2 separate regions of the Homo sapiens genome follow, and region 1 is linked to region 2. Evidence: promoter capture Hi-C in human tissues and cell types (Jung and others, 2019). All regions are on one chromosome and are shown on one strand. Each heading gives the region's core, a stretch centred on a gene start or on the middle of the fragment in contact. The rest is flanking DNA. Distances are from core to core; before and after follow the strand shown.

Evidence for each region. The method cuts DNA at HindIII sites, captures the fragments that hold promoters and counts their contacts. A contact is called where the count stands out against the background at its distance.
Region 1: a contact is called between a fragment that was not itself captured here and the fragment with the promoter of PLEKHA7 in region 2, in 1 of the 25 tissues and cell types used here (thymus).

The regions. Positions count from the first base shown.
Region 1 is chr11:17,189,137-17,195,555 of GRCh38, forward strand. All of the region lies in intron 1 of PIK3C2A (phosphatidylinositol-4-phosphate 3-kinase catalytic subunit type 2 alpha), which reads right to left. It also overlaps the pseudogene RPL29P21. Among named protein-coding and RNA genes, the nearest start is that of PIK3C2A, 16 kb to the right of the region's middle. RefSeq lists an enhancer at 6,140-6,419. The HindIII fragment of the contact is 5,117 bases long and covers 1,315-6,419 here.
Region 2 is chr11:17,011,819-17,017,734 of GRCh38, forward strand. PLEKHA7 (pleckstrin homology domain containing A7) reads right to left here and starts at 2,596. Exons shown (of 27, transcript NM_001329630.2): 1 at 2,498-2,596; 2 at 2,307-2,383; 3 at 2,171-2,228. The coding sequence starts at 2,583. RefSeq lists an enhancer at 358-1,119 and a silencer at 1,004-1,298. The HindIII fragment of the contact is 16,980 bases long and covers 212-5,916 here.

The DNA of each region.
Region 1 (6,419 bases), core at 2,623-5,122, 180 kb after region 2:
CCCCAAAGTATTTGGACCCAGTGGTAAACTGAATCAAACTACAGCTGCAACAAAGCACAGACTCATCTTACTTATAAATTAGACTTACTCAATTTAGTGGCCAGACAGAATAAATGGAATTTTGGAGGTAAATATTAAGTAAAAAATAAGTAAACTTCAGGTTCTCCTTTGTTTTATAGAAGCTGTCTGGTATACATGCCAGGTACGGCAGCTCACGCCTGTAATCCCAGCACTATGGCAGGCCGAGGCGGGTGGATCACCTGAGGTCAGGAGTTCAAGACCAGCGTGGCCAAGATGGTGAAACCCCATCTCTACTAAAAATACAAAAATTAGCTGGGCATGGTAGCACAGGCCTGTAATCCCAGATACTCAGGAGACTGAGGCTGGAGAATTGCTTGAACTTGGGAGGCAGAGATTGTGGTTGTTTTTAGTATATTCAGTTGTTTTTAGTATATTTTTAGTATATTCACAGGCGTGTGACCATCACTACTACCAAGTTTCAGAATACTTTCATCGCCCCATAAAGAAACCCTGCACTCATTAGCAGTCACATTTCCCCTCCCTAATATTAGTGATTTTAAAAGAAGACAGTTTTGGAGAAGTATGAAAAACTAAAAAGTGAGCTGAAATTGAGCCACTGCACTCCAGCCTGGGTCACAGAGTGAGGCTCTGTCTCAAAAAAAAAAAAAAAAAAAAAAAAGATGTCTGGTATAAAATAAAAGATTATGAGACATAAAAAGAAGCAAGAAAATGTGACCAATGGTAAGTAAAAGTAAAGGAAATAGTCAAAATAAGCAAACTCAAAGATGCCCCAAATGTTGGAATTATTATTAAATAGTAAGTTTAGGCTGGGCGTGGTGGCTCAGGCCTGTAATCCCAGCACTTTGGGAGGCCAAGGTGGGTGGATCACTTGAGGTCAGCAGTTCAAGATCAGCCTGCAACATGGCGAAACCCCATCTCTACTAAAAATACAAAAATTAGCTGGGCATAGTGACGCGTGCCTGTAATCCCAGTTACTCTGGAGGCTGAGGCAGGAGAATTGCTTGAACCTGGGAGGCAGAGGTTGCAGTGAGCCGAGATCATGCCACTGTACTCCAGCCTGGGCAACAGAGTGAGACTCCATCTCAAAAAAAATAGTAACTTTAAAATAATTATGATAGGCTGGGTGCGGTGGCTCACACCTGTAATCCCAGAACTCTGGGAGGCCAATGGATCACCTGAGGTAAGGAGTTTGAGACCAGCCTGGCCAACATGGTGCAACACCATCTCTATTAAAATACAAAAATTAGCCAGGCGTGGTGGTGCGCACCTGTAATCCTAGCTACTCAGGAGGCTGAGACAGGAGAATCACTTGAACCCAGGAGGCAGAGGTTGCAGTGAGCCGAGATTGCGCCACTGCACTCCATCCAGCCTGGGCGACAGAGCAAGACTCTGTCTCAAAAAAAAAAAAAAAATTATGATAAAAATATTAAATGATCTAGTAGAAAAGATAGACAATATGTATGAAGTGATGGGACATTTCAGCATAGTAACAGGAACTACAGAAAAGAAATACTGGAAAGGAAAAATATATTCAAAATCAATAATTAATTAGATGGACTAAGCAGAAGGATTGATAAACCCGAGGACAGATCAATAGAAAATATCCAAAATGAAACAGAGAAAAAGAGGGGGAAGGGTATACAACAGCATGTCTAAGTTCTGTGGGACAATTTCAAATGGTCTAATATAATGTGTAATTGGAGTCCAAGAAGGAGAGTAGAGAGAATGAAACAGAAGAAATATTTTAAAAGGAAATGGCCAGAACTTTCCACAAAGAAAGACATCAACCAAACAAAACCAAGAAGTTCAGTGAAGCCCAAGCAGGATAAAAATATACTAGAGGATTCACCCAATGAGGTTATAATGTAGTTTAAATGACTACTTGAAAGAAATTATGTCGGTTCTTATTAATACATGGAGTTAGGATCAAATCCATCTATTGTCTACAGAGTCTGTTCCTAAAGAAACCATGGAGGTAAGTTTTAATTTTACATCCTACCTATTAAAGAATTTAGCCTTGCCCAAAGACAGGTGCCCTCTGCTCCTGAGAGGTAATCTATGTCATACTTGACAGGAGTGTCCTTCTGGCCAGGGTTGGCCAACCAGAAAGGCCAACCATGTGATTTAGGATGGGGACTTTGGGTCACCCAGTATCAGTCTGAATCCAATCTAGAGACTGAGCTCAACTATGTGGGCAATCCATCAATCAAACATGCCTATTTAATGAAGTCCTAATTTGAAAATCTGGATGCTGAAGCACAAGTGAGCTTCCCCGGATGGCAACAGTCCATGCATACTGTCACATACTGATACTGAGAGTAACACCTCCTGACTTAATGGGGAGCGAATACCAGATGCTCCAACATTTGAGACCCTCTTGAACTTGGTTCTATGGGCTCCTTGCCTTGATTTTAATCTGTATCCTTTCCTTGAAATAAACTGTAACCATGAACATAATAGCTCTTAGCAGTGAGTTCTCCTGGCATCTTTTTAGCAAGTTATCGAAACTTTGGGAACCTCCCCAGCCCCCAGACTTGCAGTTGGTGTCAGAAGTGAAAGTGGTCTTATGGAAGACTGTGTCCTCAAACTTTACAGTTTAGCTAACTCGGAGAGGATCTTCATAAAAGTTTTAGGTTCATTTAATGATGAAAGCTAGTTAAAAGTTCAGGCTTGGCCAGGTGTGGTGGCTCATGCCTGTACTACGAACACTTTGGGACGTCAAGGTGGGCAGACTGCTTGAGTCCAGGAGTTTGAGACTAGCCTAAGAAACATAAGGAAACCCTGCTTCTACTAAAAAAAAAAAAAAAAAATAGAAAAATTAGCCAGCGTGGTGGTGCATGATTGTAGTCCCAGCTAGTCAGGAGGCTGAGGTGGCAGGAAAGCTTGAGCCCAGGAAGCAGAGGTTGCAGCAAGCGGAGATCGCACCACTGCACTCCAGCCAGGGTAACAGAGCGAGACCCCTGTCTCAATAAATAAATAAATTAATAATGCAGGTGTAATAGAAACATATGGATCCTCTTATTATTTGTTTAAACATGTGTTTGAAGATGCTCTTTGGGGAATATTGCTGATACAGTAAAGTTATATTCTCCAAGCTAAATCCAACATTGTGGGTCAATCTAAATCAGAACAGGAGACTTAATTTAACAAGCTGAATAAGCTACATTACTATACTGTACATCTCCATCTCATATTTTATACAACTCTTTTAACATATGAAAAAAATAATTGCTTCTGGTCCAACAACTACAAATAATCCCCACAAAAGAACTGTATTTTTTGTATTTTTGAGACAATCTTGCTCTGTCACCCAGGCTGGAGTACAGTGGCGCAATCTCAGCTCACTACAACCTCCATCTCCAGGTTCAAGTGATTCTCATGCCTCAGCCTCCTGAGTAACTGGGATTACAGGTGTGTGCTACCACAACCAGCTAAATGTTTTATTTTTGGTAGAGATGGGGTTTCACCATGTTAGCCAGGATAGTCTCAAACTCCTGATCTCAAGTGATCTGCCCTCCTCAGCCTCCCAGAGTGCTGGGATTACAGACGTAAGCCACCGTGCCTGGCCACAAAACAACTGTTATGGAAACCTCATCACTAGTCAACCTTTTATAGCAAATACAGTATTTGACTTTAAACATTCAGCCAATTATTATGTGGTAACTATGAAAACAACTATGGTTTTAATGTCCCCTCCAAAACTCATGTTGAAATTTAATTGCCATTGTGATAGTATTAAGAGGTGGGACCTTTAAGAGATGATTAGGCCAGGAGGGCATAGTCCTCATGACTACGACTGTGGGAGTACACTCACACAATGTCATAATTGTGGGATTAATACCATAACTGTAGGAATGGGCTCCTGATTAAAAGATGAGTTCAGCCAGATTTCCTCTCTGTCATATGTGGTCGCCTGCACTCTGTTAGGACACAGCAAGAACGCCCTCACCAGATGCCAAGCGGATGTTAGTACTACCATGCCCTTGGACTTCCCAGCCTCCAGAACTGTAAGCCAAATAAATTTATTTTCTTTATAAAGTATCAATCTGTGGTATTGTTACAGCAGCAGAAAATGAACTAAGACATTCTTCCAATAAAAACTATCCTGAAATAAGAGATTTTTCCGCCGCAGTTAGAAACTGAAATTCCCTGAAGAATATTTCCTTAGAAATCGGCTTTGTTATCCCACTAAGTTTTATATTTAAAAAATATTCTTAAATCTAAAGGTATTAACAGAAATTCAACTTAAAAATTGCTGAATATAGCTTCCGGTTCTAGGTGCTTCAGGAGCCATGGCTTAGGGTGCAGACATGGCCAAGTCCAAGAACCACACCACACACAACATTCCCGAAAATGGCACAGAAATGGTATTAAGAAACTGCGATCAAGCCAGGTGTGGTGGCTTACGCCCGTAATCCCAGCACTTTGGGAGGCCAAGGCGGGTGGATCACGAGGTCAAGAGATCGAGACCAACCTGGCCAACATGGTGAAACCCCATCTCTACTAAAAATATAAAAATTAGCGGGGCATGATGGCGCGCGTCTGTAGTCCCAGCTACTCGGGAGGCTGCGGCAGGAGAATTGCTTGAAATCAGAAGGCGGAGGCTGCAGTGAGCCGAGATCGCACCACTGCGCTCCAGCCTGGCAACAGAGCGAGACTCTGTCTCAAAAAAAGAAAAGAAAAGAAAAGAAAAGAAAAGAAAAGAAAAGAAAAGAAAAGAAAAGAAAAGAAAAGAAAAGAAACCCCGATCACAAAGATATGACTCTCTCAAGGGGGTGGACCCCAAATTCCTGAGGAACATGTGCATTGCCAAGAAGCAAAACAAGAAGGGCCTAAAGAAGATGCAGGCTTTGGCAGGCCATCAGTCCACGTGGTGAGGCTATGAAGGCCCTTGTAAAGGAGGTTAAGCCCAAGATCCCAAAGGGTGTCAGCAGCAAGCTCCATCGACTTGCCTACATTGCCCACCCCAAGCTTGGGAAGCGTGCTTGTGCCCGCATTGCCAAGGGGCTTGGGTTGTGCCGGCCAAACGACAAGGACAAGGATCAAACCAAGGCCCAGGCTGCAACTCCAGCTTCAGTTCCAGCTCAGGTTCGCAAAGGTGCTCAGGCTCCTACAAAGGCTTCAGAGTAGGTATCTGCCTGCCAACGTGAGGACACAAGGACTGGTGCAACCTGCCCAGGCTGCCGTCTGCATGGGGCTGGGGTCCTCACCTCCTGTGCTATTTGTACAAATAAACCTGAGGCAGGAAAGAAAAAAGAAATTGCTAAATACAGGCATCACAAACTAACAAATGAGGACTTTGAATTAGAAGAAAAGAAAAACTGAGTTTCTGCCCCATCCCTATTATTATTAATTAGCTATTTCAACTTGAATAAAGCACTTCACCTCTCTGAGCTTCAATTTCTCAAGTACATAAAGTTGTTAGACATTGGATGATAAGATTCATTCTAGCCTGGCGCAGTGGCTCATGCCTGTAATCCCAGCACTTTGAGAGGCCAAAGCAGGTGGATCACCTGAGGTCAGAAGTTCAAGACCAGCCTCACCAACATGGTGAAACTCCACCTCTACTAAAAATACAAAATTAGCTGGGCATGGTGGCACATGCCTGTTATCCCAGCTACTCGGGAGTCTGAGGCAGGAGGATTGCTTGAACCCAGGAGGCAGAGGATGCAGTGAGCCGAGACTGCGACATTGCACTCCAGCCTGGGCAACAAGAACGAAACTCCATCTCGAAGAAAAAAAAAAAAAGATTAATTCTAACTCTTAGATTTCTATAATATTAAATTTAACTTGTAAAGTTTAATTCTTTTCTCCAAATTTTGTTACGTTAAGTATGCAGTCACATTTCCAAGTTGAGGGTATGACACAATGAAACTTCCTCATTCGAATCTAACTTAATTTTACCCTGTGGATTTCTTGTGATGTATTTTTTTATAAAAATTAGAAATATAGGGGGCCGGGTGTGGTGGCTCATACTCATAATCCCAGCACTTTGGGAGGCCGAGGCAGGTGGATCACGAGGTTAAGAGATCAAAACCATCCCGGCCAACTTGGTGAAACCCTGTCTCTACTAAAAATACAAAAATTAGCTGGGCATGGTGGCAGGCGCCTGTAATCCCAGCTACTCAGGAGGCTGAGGCAGGAGAATCGCTGGAATCCGGGAGGCAGAGGTTGCAGTGAGCCGAGATGGCGCCACTGCATTCCAACCTGGTGAAAGAGGAAGATTCTGTCTCAAAGAAAAAAAAAAAATTAGAAACATGGCCAGGTGCAGTGGCTCATGCCAGCAAACCCAGCACTTTGGGAGGCCAGGGCAGGCAGATCACTTGAGGTCAAGAGTTCAAAACCAGTCTGGCCAACATGGTGAAACTCCATCTCTA
Region 2 (5,916 bases), core at 1,346-3,845:
ATCTCAAATGTAAGATGGCAAAACAAGATCTCATGATTCTCCTCCACCCCAAACCGGCTCTTCCCATCTCAACGATATGAATGCTATCCACTCAGGTGCCCAAGCCCTGAGGAGTCATCTTTGCCTCTTCTCTTTCTCCCACAGACTATTCAGTCCATCATGAAGGTGTGAAGAGCCTATTTCCTAAACACAGCCTGAATGTGACCACTACTCCCTGTCTACTGTGCTACCACCCTCAGGCAAGCCACTTCTAACTCCTGCCTGGAAGAGGGCAACAGCCTCAGCTGCTCTCCTGCCTCCCCCTGCAGTGGCCACCTACAATCCAATCTCCTCACAGTGATCGTTCTAAAAACACACACCAAATCATGCCATTTCCCTGCTTAAAACCCTCCAATGACGTTTCACTGGGCTTAGAATAAAGTATGAAAATTCCTCACCCCGGCTCACAAAGCTTTGCGGCATTTACCTTTCTCCTACCTGTGACCTCTCCTCATGCCACTTTCTCCCTTGTGCACCACATTCCAGCCTTCCTGCTCCTTAAACTCCAAGCTCTTTTCTGCCTTAAGCCCTTGCCCTGGCTGTTCGCTCTTCCCGAAATGCTTTGCCAACTCATCATCACATGATGTCTCCTTCTTGTCATTCAAATTTTACTTTAAATGTTGCCTATTCAGAAACACCATCCCGATCTCCCAGTACAACCAAGCCACCCAGTCACTCCATGTCACATCACCTTATTTTAACTTTCTGCACAGTAGTAACCACGATCTGATATTATTATTTGTGTTTTTTACTTATTTTCTACTCCCTTCCCTCTCCTATTAGATTGCAAGCTCCATGAGCACCTAGAACTTTTCTGTTTTTTGTTCCCAATGCCTAGAACAACGTGTGAACGTGTGGCACACAGGAAAATTGTAATAACATCAACTGATGCAGTTATGAGCCAGAGAGGCCCACTGACAGCAAGACTCTGATGGCCCCAGCCAACTCCCCAACTTCACATACACACATATGAGGCAGGGCAATAGAACCGCAGCAAGGCCCTAGTCCTTAGGTCTGTAAATCTCACCCATCAGTATTTTCAACTATTATGCAAGAACCCAAACCAGAAAAGGAGGTTCCGGGGTTTTCTTGAAATAGGCTGCTTTATTCCTAACAGTAGTAGTTCTGACTCACAGTCGCCGAGGTACACCCAGTCAGTACTAGTCAGACCACCGTCCAGACCTTTGGCGAGCTGATTCATTCAGTGAACAAACATTTACCGAGTGCCTACTTGCTGTCCGGCACTGGGGCAAGGGGTCAAAGGCAGTGTCTGGCCTCCCGGAGCTCAGCAGGCAGAGGGAAACACGCTGCAACACAGACTCCCGCCGGAGTGGGAAAGCAAAGCCTGTACTGGCATAGGAGCCTGACCCGCGCCTTCACTTACTGCGCCCCAATCTGACATGGACTGATCCTACAGACCCAGGGTAACCTGGCTGGTGCGCCAACACTCCGGGGCTTTTGCGGAAAAGTCGCCCGTGGACTAACGGAAGCACCAGCAATCCCCCGGTTCAGCTCCGGCCGAAGAGACGCGGAGCGCTCGAGGAAAGTCATTGGTTGACCAGTTCCCTTCCCCACCCCCTCCCTCCCCGCAGGCCCGCGCAGTGGATGGAGGCCGGGGGCGAGGTTCCGACTCTCCAAGACCATCCCAGAGCCTGCGGCGGGAGAGGGGGCGTCCTCCTAAGCGAGATTCCCCTAGTCTCTCCCTCTCCCCACTCCAACCCCGCAGGCCCACACCAGGACAGAACTTCTCGTTCTACTCCTCCCACCCGAGCCCATCCAGGTCCCGGCACTCGCCTCTCCCGGCGGGGCGCAGCCCCAGACCCTAGAGGGGAGGCGTGCCCAGCCCGCACACCAGCACCCGAATCCAGCCGGATTGCAAGGTCCAGGGCGCAGAGTCTGCGGCCTCTTCCCCCCCGGCCCAGGTCCCCAGCGTAGGTGCGGCCCCCACCGCCTTCCTCTCGGAGGCCGCCAAACAACTTGGGCACACAAAACGTTGAGTGTGGCCGCGGCGCAGCGCGCGCCAACGAGCCCGGGCCGGCGGGAGCAGAGGAAGGGCGGGGCGCCCGGCGGGAACGGGGAGGGACCCCCCCCCCGCGGCACAGGTGCGAGCGCGGCGGCCCCACTCACTCACTCGATGAAGTAGCTGGCGCCCTCCTCCGTGAAGCCCTCCTCCCAGCCGCGGGGCAGGTCTGCGGAAACGCCAGAAAAGTCGGGTCAAACTTGGGCCGCCGCTGCGCGCGCCCCCCACCCGCCGGCCCGGCGCCCACCTGAGCGGATCATGTGGCCCGAGTTGACGGGCTCCCCGGTGCGCGGATGCAGCCAGGTCGTGCAGCGGAGCTGGTCACTGCGGGCAGAGAGGTGCACCTGTTAGCGCCGCCACAGCCCGCCGGGTGCCCGCCCGGCCCCCGCCCCCGCGCCCCCACCCGCGTCCCCGCGTCCCCGGGTCCTCGCGCCGCACTTGATGAAGAAGACGCGGCCATCCCGGCACACCCCGTAGGACCAATGCTCAGGTAAAGTGTCCCGCCCGACCGTCGCCGCCGCCATGTTCGCCGAGCGCGGAGCCGCCGCGGGGTGGGGGGGAGGGGGCGGGGGCGCGGGCAGGGGCGGAGGCGGGGGCGGTGGCGGGGGCTCGGCCTGCGCGTGGCCCGGCGGCGCCGCGAGGCGCTCCATCCAGGCGCGGGCTCCTGAGGGAGCGACCGCCCGGCCGGGTCCTGGCGCCCGGAGTTCGCAGCCGCTCCGGCCAACCCAGCGCAGTGCCCGCGGCCTTTGTCCCCGAGCCTTCCCCGCCCCCAGCCTGCTGGCACCGGCGCTCCCCTTTGCCCCCGAGGCCGGGAGACCCGGGCGGCGCGGGGGGCCGCTGGCGGGGGCCGCTGGCGGGCGCGCCTGGGCAGCTTCGGGGCGCGCGGTTGGACCCGACCAACTCCGAAAACGGCGAGCGCCCGAACGCTCAGTAAACCCCAGCCGACCCGCACCACAGAACTTCCCGACCCGGGAACTCCGCTTGTGTGTGAACCAAGTTAACACTCAGGTTCCTGCCATATTCCCAGCCTCCTTCTCTTCCCCTGTAAGGTTAATCGAGTCCACACGGGATTGTTGTGTAGATTAAATGAAGTAACAATCGCATAAAGTGCTTAACCGGACCATGGCATGTAGTAGGTGCTCTATCAACGGCAGGCCGAGCGCGATTTCATTTTCCCAAGTTTTCAGCTGGGATGTGAAACAGGAGGGAGCAGGGTTACCGCCACACACCACTGAGGTTGCAGGGATCGCAAGCTCTTGCCTTCAGTTTCTGTCAAGTAACAGAAAAAAGGGGTTTTGAGGGCTCGGCAGCACGTCCATCTCTGGAAGAGCGGTGGCCAGGCGGGGCCTCTAGGGGGCCCTGCAAAGCTCTTTGCAGTGGCGGCACCCTCTCATATTCGGGTCTTTACTCCTATCTTATCTCCTCGGGGAGCCCTCCCTGAGCCCTCTGCAAAGAAAATCCTTCCCCTCCTTCCCTCGCTATTTCATTACTTGTTTACATTTAATTGATATTTGTGTTTGTCTTGTTTGTTGTATATTAGTTCCAACATGTCAGCTGGATGAGAGAAGGGGCTTTGATCTACCTCATACACTGCCTGGTCTCCAATGCCTGGAACAGCACCTGACTCATGTATGCATTACGCATTCAATAACTGTAGGATGGGGTGGGGCACGGTGGCTCAGGCCTGTAATCCCAGCACTCTTGGAGGCCGAGGCGGGTGAATCACTTGAGGTCAGGAGTTCTATTCCAGCCTGGCCAACATGGTGAAACCCCGTCTCTACCAAAAAAATACAAAAGCTAGCCGGGCGTGGTGGCGGGCGCCTGTAATCCCAGCTACTCAGGAGGCTGAGGCGGGAAAATCGCTTGAACCAGGGAGGCAGAGGTTGCAGTGAGCCGAGATCGCGCCGCTGCCCTGCAACCTGTGCAACAGCGAGACTCAGTCTAAAAAAAAAAACTGCAGGATGAGTGAATGAAACATACTCCACACTCAGACTCCCGGCCACACACACACACACACACACACACACACACTGAGCAAAGACAGAGCAGCAGCTGGGCTCCAGCTGTTGTCAGGCCCAGCCTTCTCGGGACATAGGCTCTGATTGATGGGAGGAGGCGCGCCTGAAAGTGAGACTGTATGCAATGTGAGCACTAGTTATTCAGAAAGGTGCCCAAACAGGTGGAATTAGGCTGGACCCTGAAGGACTGGTTAGGTTTGACTGGGAAAAGAGCACTCCAGAGGGGAGGGATGGGAGAGCATGCACATAATTTTGGGAGGGCTGTGAGATGTTGATGAGACCATAAAGGGGCCCTTCCTTGGGAACAGACAGTGGTGTTGGGGAAGGAGGCATTTATGAGTTAGAAGAGGTAACTGGTTGCAGAGGACGGGGGACACCTGTCTGAAGGAACCTCCTGCCTCTGAGGAGGTTGTTGAGCAAATGAAAATAGGAAAGCGGTGTTTTGCTAGCTAAACATTGATTTTAAATAATACATTAAATGGGCAAAGGGTATGAACCCACAGTTAATAGAAAAGTAATACAGATAACTTTTAAGCAAATGAAAAGATACTGAGCCACTTCATAATAGAAGAACTGCAACTTACGGTGAAATACTATTTTTTTAGATGTCAGATTGGAAAAGATAAATTAGAAAAGATATTGGCCAGGCGTGGTGGCTCACGCCTGTAATCCCAGCACTTTGGGAGGCTGAGGCGGGTGGATCGCTTGAGATCAGCAATTCGAGACCAGCCTGGCCAACATGGTGAAACCTTGTCTCTACTAAAAACACAAAAATTAACTGGGCATGGTGGTGCATGCCTGTAATCCCAGCTACTTGGGAGGCTGAGGCAGGAGAATCACTTGAACCCTAGAGGTGGAGGTTTCAGTGAGCAGAGATCACGCCACTGCACTCCAGCCTGGGTGACAGAGTGAAACTCTGTCTCATAAAAGAAAGAAAGAAAAGATATTGTAGAGAAAGACATTCTTGTTCATTGTTGATGGGACTTTAAAATGTTTGAGCCTCTTCGAAGGCAATTTGGCACAGCTATTCCAACCTCAATGTCTTGACCTAGCAATTTCATGTCAGGAATTTATCCTACATTAGTGCTTACATGGGGCACAAATTCCAGTGTACTAGAGTATTCACTGCAGCATTGTCAGTAATTACAAAGAACTGGAAATAACCTTAATGTCTATCAAAAAAGACCTGGTTGATTAAACTGGCACATTCCTCAACAACAACAACAACAAAAACAGAATGCTATGCAAGCTGTAAAAAAGAATGAGAATAGATCCCTACGTACTGATATAGAATGGTCTGTAAGATATTAAATGGGCCAGATGCAGTGGCTTGTACCTATAATCCCAGTACTTTGGGAGGCTGAAACATGAGGATGGCTTGAGTCCAGGAATTCAAGACCAGCCTGGGCAACATGGCAAAACTCCATCTCTACAAAAGATACATTAGCCAGGCATGGGGCGCATACCTATAGTTACAGCTACTTGGGAGGCTGAGGTGGGAGGATCACTTGAGCCCTGGAAGTTGAGGCTTCAATGAGCTATGATTGGGCCACTACACTCTATTCTGGGTGACAGAGCAAGACATCATCTCTAAATAAATAAATAAATAAAGTGAAAAGGCAGGCTACAGTACTGTGCATGTGATATGCTACTGTTAACATACAGATATAGTCCCTACACTGTCAAGAATCAGGTAAAGTGATTGCCTCTGAGGAGGGAAACTCTAATAGGAATGGTACGAGATTTACTTTACCTTGTTTCCCCTTTCATACTGTTTGATCTTTTTATCATTTAAAACATATACATATAGATACATAGAATAATACAATTCATTAATAG